Linked DNA regions of Homo sapiens: region 1 is linked to region 2. The links are contacts of gene promoters, found by promoter capture Hi-C in blood cells and fetal thymus (Javierre and others, 2016). All regions are on one chromosome and are shown on one strand. The core of a region is centred on a gene start or on the middle of the fragment in contact, and the rest is flanking DNA. Distances in the headings are between cores, read along the strand shown. Region 1 overlaps EDRF1 (erythroid differentiation regulatory factor 1). Region 2 holds the start of GOT1 (glutamic-oxaloacetic transaminase 1).

Region 1 (6,797 bases), core at 2,676-5,175, about 26 Mb before region 2:
TGATTACCACTGCTCTTTCAGCCTACTCTATCTATATTGAATTTAAAAATTCCTAAGAAACTGGCCAGGCACGATGGCATGTGCTTGTAGTCCAAGCTATGTGGGAGGTCGACAGGGGAGAACTGCTTGAGCCCAGGAGTTCGAATCCAGCCTGGACAACATAATGAGAGTCTGTCTCTTAAAAAAAAGAAACCCTAAGAAATCTTACTCAGCCACAGTTTGAGATACTCATTATCTTAACAGTCTCCAGTTTAGCATTTCCTGATGAGTGTTTCACAGAACACTAGTTCCTGGGAAACTGAATGAAAATTTTCCAGAGTCAGGTTTGAAAGATGACGTTTACCAGGTACTCACTTTTGTGGAGTAACAATATTTATTGATATTAAAACAATAAATATATAATAAGTAATCCTGCAATAGAAAAATCTACTTTATCTTTGTAAAAACCAATGTTTCCCAAATGTATTTAATCTCAGAACACTTTTTGTTCTTAAGATATTCTCTGGAATACTTTTTTTTTTTTTTTTGAGACAGAGTTGCCCAGGCCAGAGTGCAGTGACATGATCTCAGCTCACTGCAACCTCCGCCTCCTGGGTTCAAGCAATTCTCCTACCTCAGCCTCCCGAGTAGCTGGGATTACAGGCACGTGCCACCATGCCCGGCTAATTTTTTTTTCTTTTTTTAAATAGAGATGGGGTTTCGCCATGTTGGCCAGGCTGGTCTCTAACTCCGGGCCTCAAGTGATCCACCCACCTCGGCCTCCCAAAGTGCTGGGATTACAGGCATAAGCCACTGCGCCCAGCCTGGAATGCATTTTGGAATACACTTGGGCCCTCTTGACACTGGGTAAACTCAGCCTACCACTCAATTTTCCAATCATTAGGAAAGTAGTACTGCCATTAAGAAATACTACTTTAAGCTTTTAATGTCATTGCCTCAACAGAACCCAAGACAGGCATGCGTGTGTTGCTTATTCCACAAACATCTGTCTTACTTGTCATCTGTGTGTGCCAGTAGGCTTGGCACCTGCTTGGGAAGAGTGTGTGACTATAAGCACAGGTGGCTCTCTAGCACTTCTATTGTGCCTTGTCCTCTCCCTCAGGAGTCCTAAGAGAACTTTAAACTCTTTTTTATTTTATTATTTGTTTACACAGACAAGTTATCAACTCATGAACCGATTCTCAAAACAGTTTGCCAGGCAGTTGCTTTAGTCAGAGTATGAGCTCTAGGTTACAACGTTCTCAATAAATGTCTGGCTCTAGGACCATCCCACAGTCACCTATTTAACCTCTATAACTGCTTAACAAAGGCCTCAAGCCAGCAGTTTTAGTTTTTGGAACAAGAATTTGTGCAGAGATAGCTTGCAAATATAAACAAATCTCTAAAGCTGAAATTTAAGCAATATAAGAAAAGTACTCTGTAAGAGACTCTTAAGGCAGGCTAGCTGTGCCTAGGGATACACCACTACTACGATGATCTGACTGTTAGTAGGGCCTTGCTGTGTGTGGAGTACACGGACACAGTGGAGTACTGCTGGAGGAACAGGCCTCTGCAGGCAGAAAGATCTGGGTTTAAGCCCTAGCCTGAGAGTTTCGCCAGCTGTATGACCATGTGAAACATCTTTTGATGAGCGTTAGTTTACTTATTTGTACAATACGCAGCTCCAAGAATGAAAAAAAAAACCTTGTACAAACATACACATGGCATAAGAGCTATTCAGTAAATGCCAGCTTGCTTCCTCAACACGCAAGTCTACAGATTCCCGACTCTCCAAGAGTTTTCACAGTAATTCCTAAACAAGGTAAAGACAGAACAACACTGGGAGATGGGTGACATGGGTAATAGGAGGGTAGTATTTGTATTATGTAGTCTTTTCTCCCTTCTGAATCATAGAACATCCCTACTTCTTGGTTGTTACCACTATGTGACTTGCATATTAATTACTTCCTTTTCCTTACATTTTTCTCACTTTTGAAAGAAATTTAAATTCATTATGGAGTTTTATGGGATGCTTTCTCTATCTTAAACCTACTGAAACTAAAATCGAGTTAAATGTATCTGCTCCCTGTAATTTGTGAAGATTGAAACAATCTGGTTGAATAGTGCTCAATATGTGGGAACACAACAGCAAGAGGGAAGACGTAACTTATCAAGTCACAGATCTTATTATCTATTTATCAATCTATTTTCCTGAAAATAGACATGTCACAATTTACATCTATGGCTTTATTTTATTCTTTGATAGATACAGTAAGTACAAAAATAAACAAGCATTAGGAAGAAACAAGGATGTAAGAGATAAAATGGACAACCTAGTTCATTCTCTTTTCTAAAACTTTTATAACATGAATGTGGACTAAGTTTCAGGAATTTTATCTGGAAAACCTTAAAGGGATATTTTAGGTCTAACAATCTGACTGAAAGTTATGGTAAAAAGGTTAGAACTTAAATTACAAATGGGTCTCTGAGTCTCAATATTTGGTAGGAAATGTCTATCAAATATTGACAGATATTTATAGTTAAAATAGTATTTATAGTTAAAAATGACTAGTATTTATAATTAAAATATACTATATCTCTATATAATACTCATCACTTGAAGGAGATAATCAGTATTAATAAACATATCAGTCAACTATTATATTTCGATTTAATAAAAAAATCTGATCTCCCCACCTATAATAGCTCTTGTAAATTCTATTGCGAAAAACTAAAAAGTATTTCTCCAATTCCATAAATTGACAGAAGTCTTTTTTCCCCCATTCCATAAGCTGACAGAATATTTCTTAGTCCTGTTCATCTTTTTTTTTTTTTAACGAGATGTTAAAAAAGGCTTTGTTTTCCTATGTGAGTTTCTAGAATTAGCATTTAAGTACTAACCTGACTGGAAGCACTGGGATCTTCAGAAACTGAAGAAGGCATTTCGAAGGGAGCAGGCCATGAAGCCCCTTCCGAATCATTTGTCTGATCTGAACTGGACGATTCCTGCTGTTCTGCGGTGGATGAGACAGGCTGAGCGGCTCCATCACCATTGATACTGGCCAAACCAGAAATAAAAAAGGATTGCTGTTACTAAAGTTAACTTCATGCAACAGTCTACCCGTTTATAAAAACTACAATCTGTAATTAAGCATACATCTTGTAAAAAAGAAATATGAAACAAATGTTAACAGTATCACAGGGGCAAAACTTAAATTATAACTTCATTAAGCTTCACACTAAATTTTAGATCAGAATTCCCTTTTTCTCTTTAGAGATAAATAAGTAGCCAAGTACCTGTAATATAAAAACTTGGAAAGAATTGCCTTTTGATACCAGTGCTCTTTGCTCTTTTTCTTCCTCTGCCACTTCTGATCAATGAGTCTTTGATAAAACTCTTTCAACCATGTCCAGTCACCAGTCTGGATAACATGAGATACATATTATTAATACAACACACATAGTCGAAACAATGTTACCTAGTACTAGCTTACAGAAAAGGCTCCTATTATTTTTTGAATAGTTTCATAAACACATACTCATTAAAAACATATCTTTCTGGGTCAATTCATACCACCTTTCTTTTGTTTTTTGTTTCCTAAAGGAAACCCGTCTTCCTCCTCCTAAGCCAGGCTGGGAGAGGTGAGTCTTCTCTATAACATGTTCCTTAGCAGCTGCAGTAGTTCCCACTTTGCACACTATATTGAAATGATCTGTGTATGTGTTTATAACCCCAAACAATGAACTGCTGAGGAGCAAGGCCTGTGATTTGTTCACTGTCACATCCCCGTGCCTAGGCTCATACTCACATGATGAACTAAACGGTGGTCTTTTCAAAGGAAAAAAGCACTTATTTTAAATGTCATTTACCTCACCATAATTTAATTTTCTTTATCAAAGCACTGTAGTAATATTCTTTAAAGACTGACCATGAACTATTTCTTGCCAGCCCAAGAAAAGTACAGATATGGAGGGTAGTTCTTGAGAAACTGCAACAATGTTATTATGTTTTTCAAAAGTATCCATTCTCAACATGTGGGAAAAACAGTCCTTACCAACATACAATTTGAGAATCTAGGCTAAAGAGCATCAATTAATTCTAATAACTACAGCCATGTGTCATTTAACAATGGGGATATATTCTGAGAAGCGCGTCATTAGGTGATTTTGTCCTGGTGTGAACATCGCAGAGTGTTACTTATAGAAACCTGGATGGTACAGCCTACTCCCTACCTAGGTCATACGGTATAGCCTATTGCTCCCAGGCTACAAATCTGTACATGTGACTGAAGTATTTGTGTATCTGAACACTGCAAATACAGTAAAAATACAGTATATTATAATCTTATGGGACCACCGGTATATGCAGTCCATCGCTGACTGAAACGTCATTATGGGAACATGACTGTATTTATTCATAGGAACAGCTTCTAATATTTTTCACATTTTCCAGTAGCTGTGTTTCCTGAGAATCTGTTTAAGGGAGACGTTAAAGGATTCTTAAAAATATTAAACTAGTCCCTTAAATTTCACAGTTTTTTTCACAACTTTCTTCATTGGCTTCATCTTTTTTCTTGTAAAAAAGAATCTGGCTGTTGGAATCAATAAAATAATTTTCTTCACCATTCTCATTCTCTTCTTTTTTCTTCATTCAAGCTTTTCTATCTTCAGTGAAACTTTCAATTTCTCGATTGTTGAAGTACTCAACTACATTTCCACTTTGGCCATTCTCTGAAACAAAATCGTATTTCTAGTGCTCTTAAGCTGTTAATGTTTTGTTGGATTTTTTCACAAAAGCATTACCTGAGACGATCTCATAAAGAGTTCTTGAATATCTAGCTCATCTAGTAAGAGAGTCCTTCCTATGCGGTGTACTGCCATGCTCACGTGCGACTTGCTGTAGGGAATTTTCAGGAGTTTTTTTATGTTCTTAAAAAATTAAGAGAAAAAATAGTTTAGAAAGACTGTTTTAGTGTGATTTGGAATCTTTTAAATTTTAGCTTCATTCATTTTAAAGCATAATAAACCTTATTTCCTTAAGGTTATACAAATAGAACTTTAAACAAAAAGCTACATGCAAACACACAGAGGACGGAGCTTTCAAACCAGAATCACGTACACTTTATGAGTCACATTATGTTAGTGACAGTCAAACATTTATTTTTACATGATAGGATTTCTTAAAGTTAAGGGTGTATACGTCACACTGTTATGCTGACCCAGGCTTTTAGCATATCAGATCAAAGCCACTAAGGATCCAATAGATTTTACTAGAAATATCATTTGTAACTCAACTGGTAACATATACAGAATAATCCCAAACACTATTATCAGTTTCAATTACTATCATTAAAATATAACCATCAATATATTATTACCACTGCCAGTGTTTGGGGATTGATTATTCCTTCCTCTTTAAATACAAATGTGGTAAACAATGATACTTTAACAACAAAAAAGATACTCAATAATCAGGTAAGTTTTATCTTATTTCATCACTAATTTCTCAAGACTTGCACATTTATATTATGCAAAACACAGCATGATATAAAACACCTATCACAAAACACCTCCAAAATTACATTAAGCGACAAATAACACTTACTTCAGAGTCAGAGACAACATCCACATCATTTCCCACTGAATCAATAAAGTCATATGCCATGCCAAAGCTACCAAAGAGAAAAAAGGACACAGGTTATGAGGTCATGCTCATAATCATGCAAGTAGAGCTTAATAACAATACTGTAGCTCATTGCTTCTAGGATACACATTTTCCACATTTTAACAACTCTGAAACCAGGATGTGTATCACCATCACAGTTGGCAAGTTTTTTTTTCTTAGTGGTACTAAAATAATGGTGTGTCTTAAAGTCAATGGCATCTTAGATTTGATAAAACATGGTAATAATCATTAGAAGCATCCAGTAGGAAATATTTAGAATAAAAACAATTATTCTTTATTTTTGTAATCACAAAACTCAAAGTCTCCAAGGGAAAATAGTTCAAAACTTTATTCTTTTTAGGTGGAGAGATAAGAAAAACAGAAACAGAAACATTTATCAGGATTTTACTTTCTGAGATTGTGTTTCTAGTGATATACAATACCTCTTAAAAAAATACATGAAAAAAATGTACCTGACACCAATTCAGCCACAAAAGGAAATTAAAAAAAAATGTTAATTGAGCAGCCAACTGATGCCACGTACCACCTGAAGCACATCTATAGTCTATAAGCCTGAAAGGTACCCGACATCACCATGTTCCAACTACTAAATGGCAGAGTCAGGACACTTACCAAGGACTACCTAACAGCAAAGCATGCTTTGTGATTTACTGTATGCTTGAGCCAAATTATTTAGCTCTTCTCAGCTTCCGTTTTCTCAGGTGCAATATAATTAACAGTGCCTATCTCAAAGAGTTGTTGTGAGAATTAAATGAGATAAGCATATAAATACTTGCCACAGCATTTGTATAGAGTCAATATAATTATTCAAATTTCCTCACAACATTTAATTATGTTGACAAATCACAACTGATTAAGCCATTCTTTTAAAAAATGATATTTGGGTTATTCCCAACTTTTTGCTCCTATAAATGATGCTACAAACAAACAGCATTTTTGCAAATATAACTTTTATTTTCTGAGGCTTTAGGATAATTTCCAAAATACCAGCTCATAAAGTATTAGTGTATTTGTGCCTCTTGCTACAAGTTACATGGAAATATTTTAGATTGAGTTGCTGAGAAGGGGGAAGAAGAAAAGAGAACCCTACACATTAAATGTCCTACAGTATGTACATTAATACATTTTTCTC
Region 2 (6,586 bases), core at 1,243-3,742:
AATCAAATTCTGGGAAGGTTAGGCTATACAATGCCCCCCTCAGCAGTTGCCCTCTGCCCCTGCTTTTGGAAGCACTGAAAGTTCGTTGTCATTTGACCTTCAGTGTTGAACTTGTAATGCTTAAAATGTTATTAGTGAAACACTGTGGGCAGTTACCTTTAAAACCAGAGGCAATGTTTTGGAAAAGAAATAGATAACACAAAAAGTTGACGGATGTTATACAAAGTTCTTTGGCTTGTGTTTATTACTCTGAATGAAAATTCATTTTAAGATTTATAGTATTATCCAGTGGAGAGGGGCTGTGATATTGTTTTCTTCTGAAACACCAAGAGAATTGACTCTTCTACCATTTGTTGAAGGCTTAGTAAGTGCAAGAAACCTAGGGAGACTCACAGGTCCCTAGCCAAAAGAAGCTACATGGCCAACAAGCATATAAAATACTCAACATCACTAATCACTAGAGAAACCCAAATCAAAACTACAATGAGATATCATCTCACACCAGTCAGAATGGCTATTAATAAAAGTCAAGAAATAACAGATGCTGGTTTCTGGTGAGGTTGTGGAGAAAAGGGAATGCTTATACAATGCTGGTGGGAATGTAAATTAGTTCAGTAACCGCGGAAAGCAGTGTGGCGATTTCTCAAAGAACTTAAAACAGAATTACCATTCGACCCAACAATCCCAGTATTGGGTCTATACCCAAAAGAATATAAATCATTCTACCATAAAGATATATGTACATGTATGTTCACTGCAGCACTATTCACAATCGTAAAGACATGGCATCAACCTAAATGCCCATCACCAGTAGACTGAAGAAAATACGGTACATATACACCATGGACTACTATGCAGCCATAAAAAAGAAAGAGATCATGTCCTTTGTAGCAACATGGATGGAGCTGGAGGCCTTTATCCTAAGTGAACTAATGCGGAAGAGAAAACCAAATACTGCATGTTCTGACTTGTAAGTGGGAGCTAAACATTGAGAACACATGGACACAAAGAAGAGAACAACAGACACTGGGACCTACTTGAGGCTAGAGGGTGGGAGGAGGGAGAGGATCAGAAAAAATACCTGTCAAGTACTATGCTTACTATCTGGGTGACAAAATAATTTGTACAACAAACCCACATGACAAGCAATTTATCTATAAAACAAACCTGTGCATGTATCCCGAACCTAAAATAAAAGTAAAAAAAAAAAAAAAAGCAGTTTACCATCTATGAAGGGTGTGGCAGATATGCAATGTTAATAATAGCTGACATTTAGAGAGTCCTTCTTACATGCAACTAACCACTTCGTAAATGTATTAACTCACAAACTCCCCACACCAACTCTGAGGAAAATACTATTATTTCCACAGAGCAGGAACTTCCACAGAGAGGTTAAAATAACTTGACTAAACCTGCCCAAATTCGTAAGCGGCAGCCAGAATCTAAACCTAGATAGTCCGGTCCCGGAGATAGGTTTTTAACCACAAAGGCATTTTCTAAAATTGTGAAAGTACAGAAGCACAGGAAAGAGACATTTTGGCCAGATAAGGGTTAAGGGAAGGCTTCATGGATGAAGTGGCATTCGCTCTGGGTCTTGAAGGTCAGCAGATGGAGAGGGCTCCTGGGGAGGAAGGACTCTAACGGGGAAGGAACAGCCTGACGAAGAGGAACTTTGGGTACCAGCCAGCTGACGACAGCAAGATCTGGTCCGGTGCGCGCGGGAGGAAGCTGGGAAGGGACGTCGCGCCCAGATCCCGAGGTCCTTGAGGACCAGGCCCTCTCTGCAAGGAATCGGGGAGGAAAATCTCAAACTATTAATAGAAGAGCGGCAAAAAGGAATTCGTGCGCACCCCTCTCTGTTGGAAGGACCTTCCCTGCCAGAGACCAAGGCTGGCAGGACAGGTATACTTCCCTCAGGGGGAAACAGCCGACAAAGGTGGTCAAGGTCGCCCGCGCAGGCTCCGGAGCTGCACGTCCTGGACGAACACTCCCGTCCCGAGCACAGACGCTGGGTATTTGGCTGCCAGCCCGGGCCCGCCAGGCCGGGCCTGGCACCGCCAACACCTGCTCGGCGGGAACAGGAAGACCTGTGTTCGGGAACTCCCTCCGGCCACCTCCCCGTATCCTCCTGGCCCTCGAAGGTCGAAAGGTGGCCTCTCAGGGACACCCGCCGCTCGCTCGGCTCCTCCCCTCAGCCGGGAGACCCAAGGAATAACAGCCTCTGCGATAGGAGCACGCTCTACCAATCAACCGTAGTCTTCGCCCACGCCTCAGCCGGAGGAAATTGCATTGGTTGCATCATTCTCGGCAGCCGATAAATTGTTTTCTTGGATTGGCTAATAGCGTTCCTTCTCCCCTGTGCCTTCGTCGTCAGAAGCTGGCGATTGGTTAATCGCGTTGCCAAGCTTTGGACGCGGCTCGACCATTGGAGGCCGCGGGCCCGCCCCCGCCGGCTAGGTGAAGGTGAGTGTCTCCTCCAGTCGCAACGGCCAGACCTGACCTGCCAGCTCCGGGCGTGGGGTGAAATCTCTTGATTCCTAGTCTCTCGATATGGCACCTCCGTCAGTCTTTGCCGAGGTTCCGCAGGCCCAGCCTGTCCTGGTCTTCAAGCTCACTGCCGACTTCAGGGAGGATCCGGACCCCCGCAAGGTCAACCTGGGAGTGGGAGGTAAGGATGTAGTGCTCTGGAGTGTGAGCAGCTCGGGGAGTGGAGCGGACCCAACCCAGGTCGTGGAGACTGTGGGAGAAGCCGAGGCCCAGTGTGGCGCTGCCTGAAGAGGGCGGCGCCGGAGAGGAGGCTGGATCCACGAAGGCTTCCTAAAACCTGCCCATTTTACAGATGCAGGTGTGGAGTCCCTGGAAAGGGGCGATGTGTCCGAGGCCGCACAAACCAGGTGTAGCAGCCAAGACACAAACTCAGTCTTTCCGATTCCCCATTCTGCCTTCTTTATACTGCATCCTCCTAAGAAATGAGGCTGCCGGAGCTTGTAGAGAGAGGTAGAAAAATAGGAAGCCTGATAGGCTTAGGGTTCTGGTTGCTAGGAAATGGGTAAAGGAGAACTTTTAACGCTAGAAAGCTCTGTTCTGAGTCGGTAAATATTTGAGTGACCACCGAGTATCAATCAGCCACCTTATTAAGCTTTGTAGGGGGAGACTGAGGCTTGATTTTGCCCTTAAGGATTTAAAAATCTGCTGGTGTTACACAATGCTTTGAGACAGGTTAATGCTGCCCCCGGGGGGTCTGGGGAGATGGTTCTGGCCGTCACAGATGTGGTAGGAATGGGTAGAGATGGTGGAAAGGAGTGGAGAGAAGTATGGATGGTAGAAGCTTACTTTCCACACATCCTATCTTCATTTCTTGATTCAAGTGATTCTCTTCTGTACCTTGGACAGCTCAGAGCATGGGCCTCAGTTTCCCCATCTGCCAAGAAGATTTATATTGGAGTGCCTCTCAAATTTTTTACCCCTAACCCTCTCTGATGAATTTGTTATTCTTCTCACTATCATTTGGATGTTTGAAGCCCCACAGACACTTATTTTCTCCATTTGGATTTTGCCACGTGCAAAGACCAGCCAGAGAGATGAAAATGGGTAGGATAAAGTCTTATGCTAGGTAATAGACTTAGAATAAAAGGACTAGAAATTGTGGAAAGAGAAGGTGGAATCATTTTGTAGCAGAGTGTGACATGAAGGACGCTCAGAATCAGGTTTCTCATAGATAACGTTTTGTCTGTGCATAGCATTTGTTAAAAAAAAAAAAAAAAAGTCGGCCGGGCGCGGTGGCTCAGGCCTGTAATCCCAGCACTTTGGGAGGCTGAGACGGGCGGATCACGAGGTCAGGAGATGAGACCATCGTGGCTAACACGGTGAAACCCCATCTCTACTAAAAATACAAAAAAGTATCCGGGCGTGGTGTTGGCCGCCTATAGTCCCAGGTACTCGGGAGGCTGAGGCAGAAGAATTGCTTAAACCCGGGAGACGGAGGTTGCAGTGAGCCGAGATCGTGCCATTGCACTCCAGGCTGGGCGACAGAGCGAGACTCTTTCTCAAAAAAAAAAAAAAGTCTTCACTAAGGAGTATGGGGAGGGGTAAGGAAAAATCCATTGAAAAGTGATGGTTTGTTGAAGCGGGTAATTTGTTGAAGCTGGATGATGGGTACATGGGCATACGTTATATTATTCTCTCAGCTTTTGTATAGGTTTGAAATTTTTCATCATAAAGCTTTTAAGATAAGTCAGTACTACATAGTTTGGCCCATTGAGGGAAAATGATGTTTTTAGCAGGCAACTGAGTGGGAGAAATGTTGAAAGATTGCCTCAAATTGAATTTGAATGGACACCATTTGGTCTCTTAATTTAAAACCAGTCCAAAACCTCCAAGCGTTTCTTTGCAGCGGGATGTATACAAAGAACTAGTATTACTGTCAATCTAAATACATCTTTTTAAAACGTCAGATTTTGCCTGCCACGGTGGCTCACGCCTGTAATCCCAGCACTTTGGGAGGCCAAGGCAGGTGGATCACCTGAGGTCAGGAGTTCGAGACCAGCCTGGCTAACATGGTGAAACCCCATCTTTACTAAAAATACAAAAATTAGCCAGACGTGGTGGTGCACACTGGTAGTCACAGCTACTTGGGAGGCTGAAGCAGGAGAATCGCTTGAACCTGGGAGGTGGCGGTTGCAGTGAGCCAAGATCACGCCATTGTACTCCAGCCTGGGTAACAGAGTGAGACTCCGTCTCAAGAAAGAAAGAAAAAAAAAAACAAAAAACCACGTCAGATTTATTTTATTAATTCAATTTACCTTTGAACTATCTTACAGGGTTTCTGTGAGGATTAAGTACATTTAAAGTGTTTATAGCTGTATTTGGCACATAAGTAGGATTTATATAAGTGTTAGGTATTACTGTTATTGTTGTTTTGGCATTTCTTTGAGTGATTCTCATAAAAGATATTGAATAAAAATTTTCAGTTCAAGAACTGCAAAATGAACTAATTTATGACCTTGGTTCAGAAATAAACTGCTCCTGCAGAGAAAAAGCACCCCGACAGCACAGGCCAGAAGCAATGGACTCAGAATTGGAGTCATTGACTCAGACGGCCACCTCAGCTGTGAAGGTGCCTTTGTCATGTTTTCCAGGAACTCCAACTCCTTACCATGAGCAAATTATTTATGCATGTAATCTCACTGAATGCTCACAACTCTGGAGGGTGGTTTATTACTATTACTGTTTAGAGGCAAGGAAGCCGAAGACTGGAGAGGTGAAGCAATTTGCCCCAGGTCATTTGACCACTGGGTGGTAGAGCTGGGAATCCAGGCCAGGTCTCTCAGGCCTCAGAGTCTCTGCCCACACCTGTATTTCAGGTACCTCCAGGTGGTAGCCAGTACACTGTAGTGGGAAGAGCCAGGAGACCTAGGTACAGGCCCAGCACCGTGGTCCAGCCATGTGACTTGGAAGGGTTGTTTAACATCCCTGGGGCTCATCTGTTAAATGAGGAGCCAAGATTGAATGACCTCTCTCCCAAATTCTACTCTTAAGATTCTACTGGGCCAGGCATGGTGGCTCACGCCTGTAATCCCAACGCTTTGGGAGGCCGAGGCGGGCGGATCACGAGGTCAGGAGATTGAGACCATCCTGGCTAACACGGTGAAACCCCGTCTCTACTAAAAATACAAAAAAATTAGCAGGGCGTGGTGGCGGGCGCCTGCAGTCCCAGCTACACGGGAGGCTGAGGCAGGAGAATGGCGTGAACCCAGGAGGCGGAGCTTGCAGTGAGCTGAGATCGCGCCACTGCACTCCAGCCTGGGCAACAGAGTGAGACTCCGTCTCAAAAATAAATAAATAAATAAATAAATAAAAAAGATTCTACTGTACTAAAAGTCAACTCCACAATTCACTAGCACATTCTATGACTGTAGCGTAGGATAATAATTTTACTGGCCTCATCAGTTGTCTGAGGATTAAATGAATAATTATATGTGAAATGTGATATATAAATGAAAAGTGTCATATATAAGTGTTATTTTTGATCATCACTGTGACCCGTCTTTTTGTGGATAGCAGGTGTTTGGATAAGGATCTAATTAGAGTAGAATAAAAGGTCTCCTTCCAGCCGTTATATGTCCTAGTCTTATTTATACACATCCCCAAGTATACCCCTTGTGAAGAAAATGTAATTAATCATTGACCTTAGGGAAGATACTTTTTTTCCCCCAAGTTAATATAAAACCTAATGGAGGTTATCTAGTTAATGTTCCAGTGATTTTGGACACGTTTAGAATAAACTGCACCTGTAATCTCAGACAGTTCCTACTTGCAGCTAGTTTCCTCAGTTTTTCTTCTTGCTGTGATGATTTAAATAATTTCCTTATAGGTAAACAGAGGAGAGTATCACATTTTCCACTGCTAAGCACAATGCTTTCTAAGTTGATCATTTTAGTGCTTCTCAAAGCTTCAGACTGAAGTGGTTTTAAGGACATGGGAAATGGATCCAACCTGGTGCAACCTGTAGCAAGAAGTTTCTTCAAAGACTCCAGTCCATTTTTTCATGTGAGCCTAGCTTTCTTTTGGCCCAGATAAACTCTGC

Evidence for each region. Contacts are between HindIII fragments. The CHiCAGO score rates a contact against its expected background, and 5 or more counts as called.
Region 1: a fragment that was not itself captured here is called in contact with the fragment with the promoter of GOT1 in region 2 in 1 of 17 cell types (total CD4 T cells); the score reaches 8.9 in total CD4 T cells.

Annotation. Positions count from the first base shown.
Region 1 is chr10:125,721,922-125,728,718 of GRCh38, reverse strand. It overlaps EDRF1 (erythroid differentiation regulatory factor 1), which reads right to left. Exons shown (of 25, transcript NM_001202438.2): 3 at 5,585-5,651; 4 at 4,783-4,908; 5 at 3,277-3,401; 6 at 2,881-3,037. Among named protein-coding and RNA genes, the nearest start is that of EDRF1, 5.6 kb to the right of the region's middle. The HindIII fragment of the contact is 1,424 bases long and covers 3,214-4,637 here.
Region 2 is chr10:99,426,530-99,433,115 of GRCh38, reverse strand. GOT1 (glutamic-oxaloacetic transaminase 1) reads left to right here and starts at 2,492. Exons shown (of 9, transcript NM_002079.3): 1 at 2,492-2,668. The coding sequence starts at 2,551. GOT1-DT (GOT1 divergent transcript) reads right to left here and starts at 2,180. Exons shown (of 5, transcript NR_183993.1): 1 at 1,851-2,180. RefSeq lists enhancers at 1,912-2,341, 2,522-2,571, 2,592-2,651. The HindIII fragment of the contact is 734 bases long and covers 2,408-3,141 here.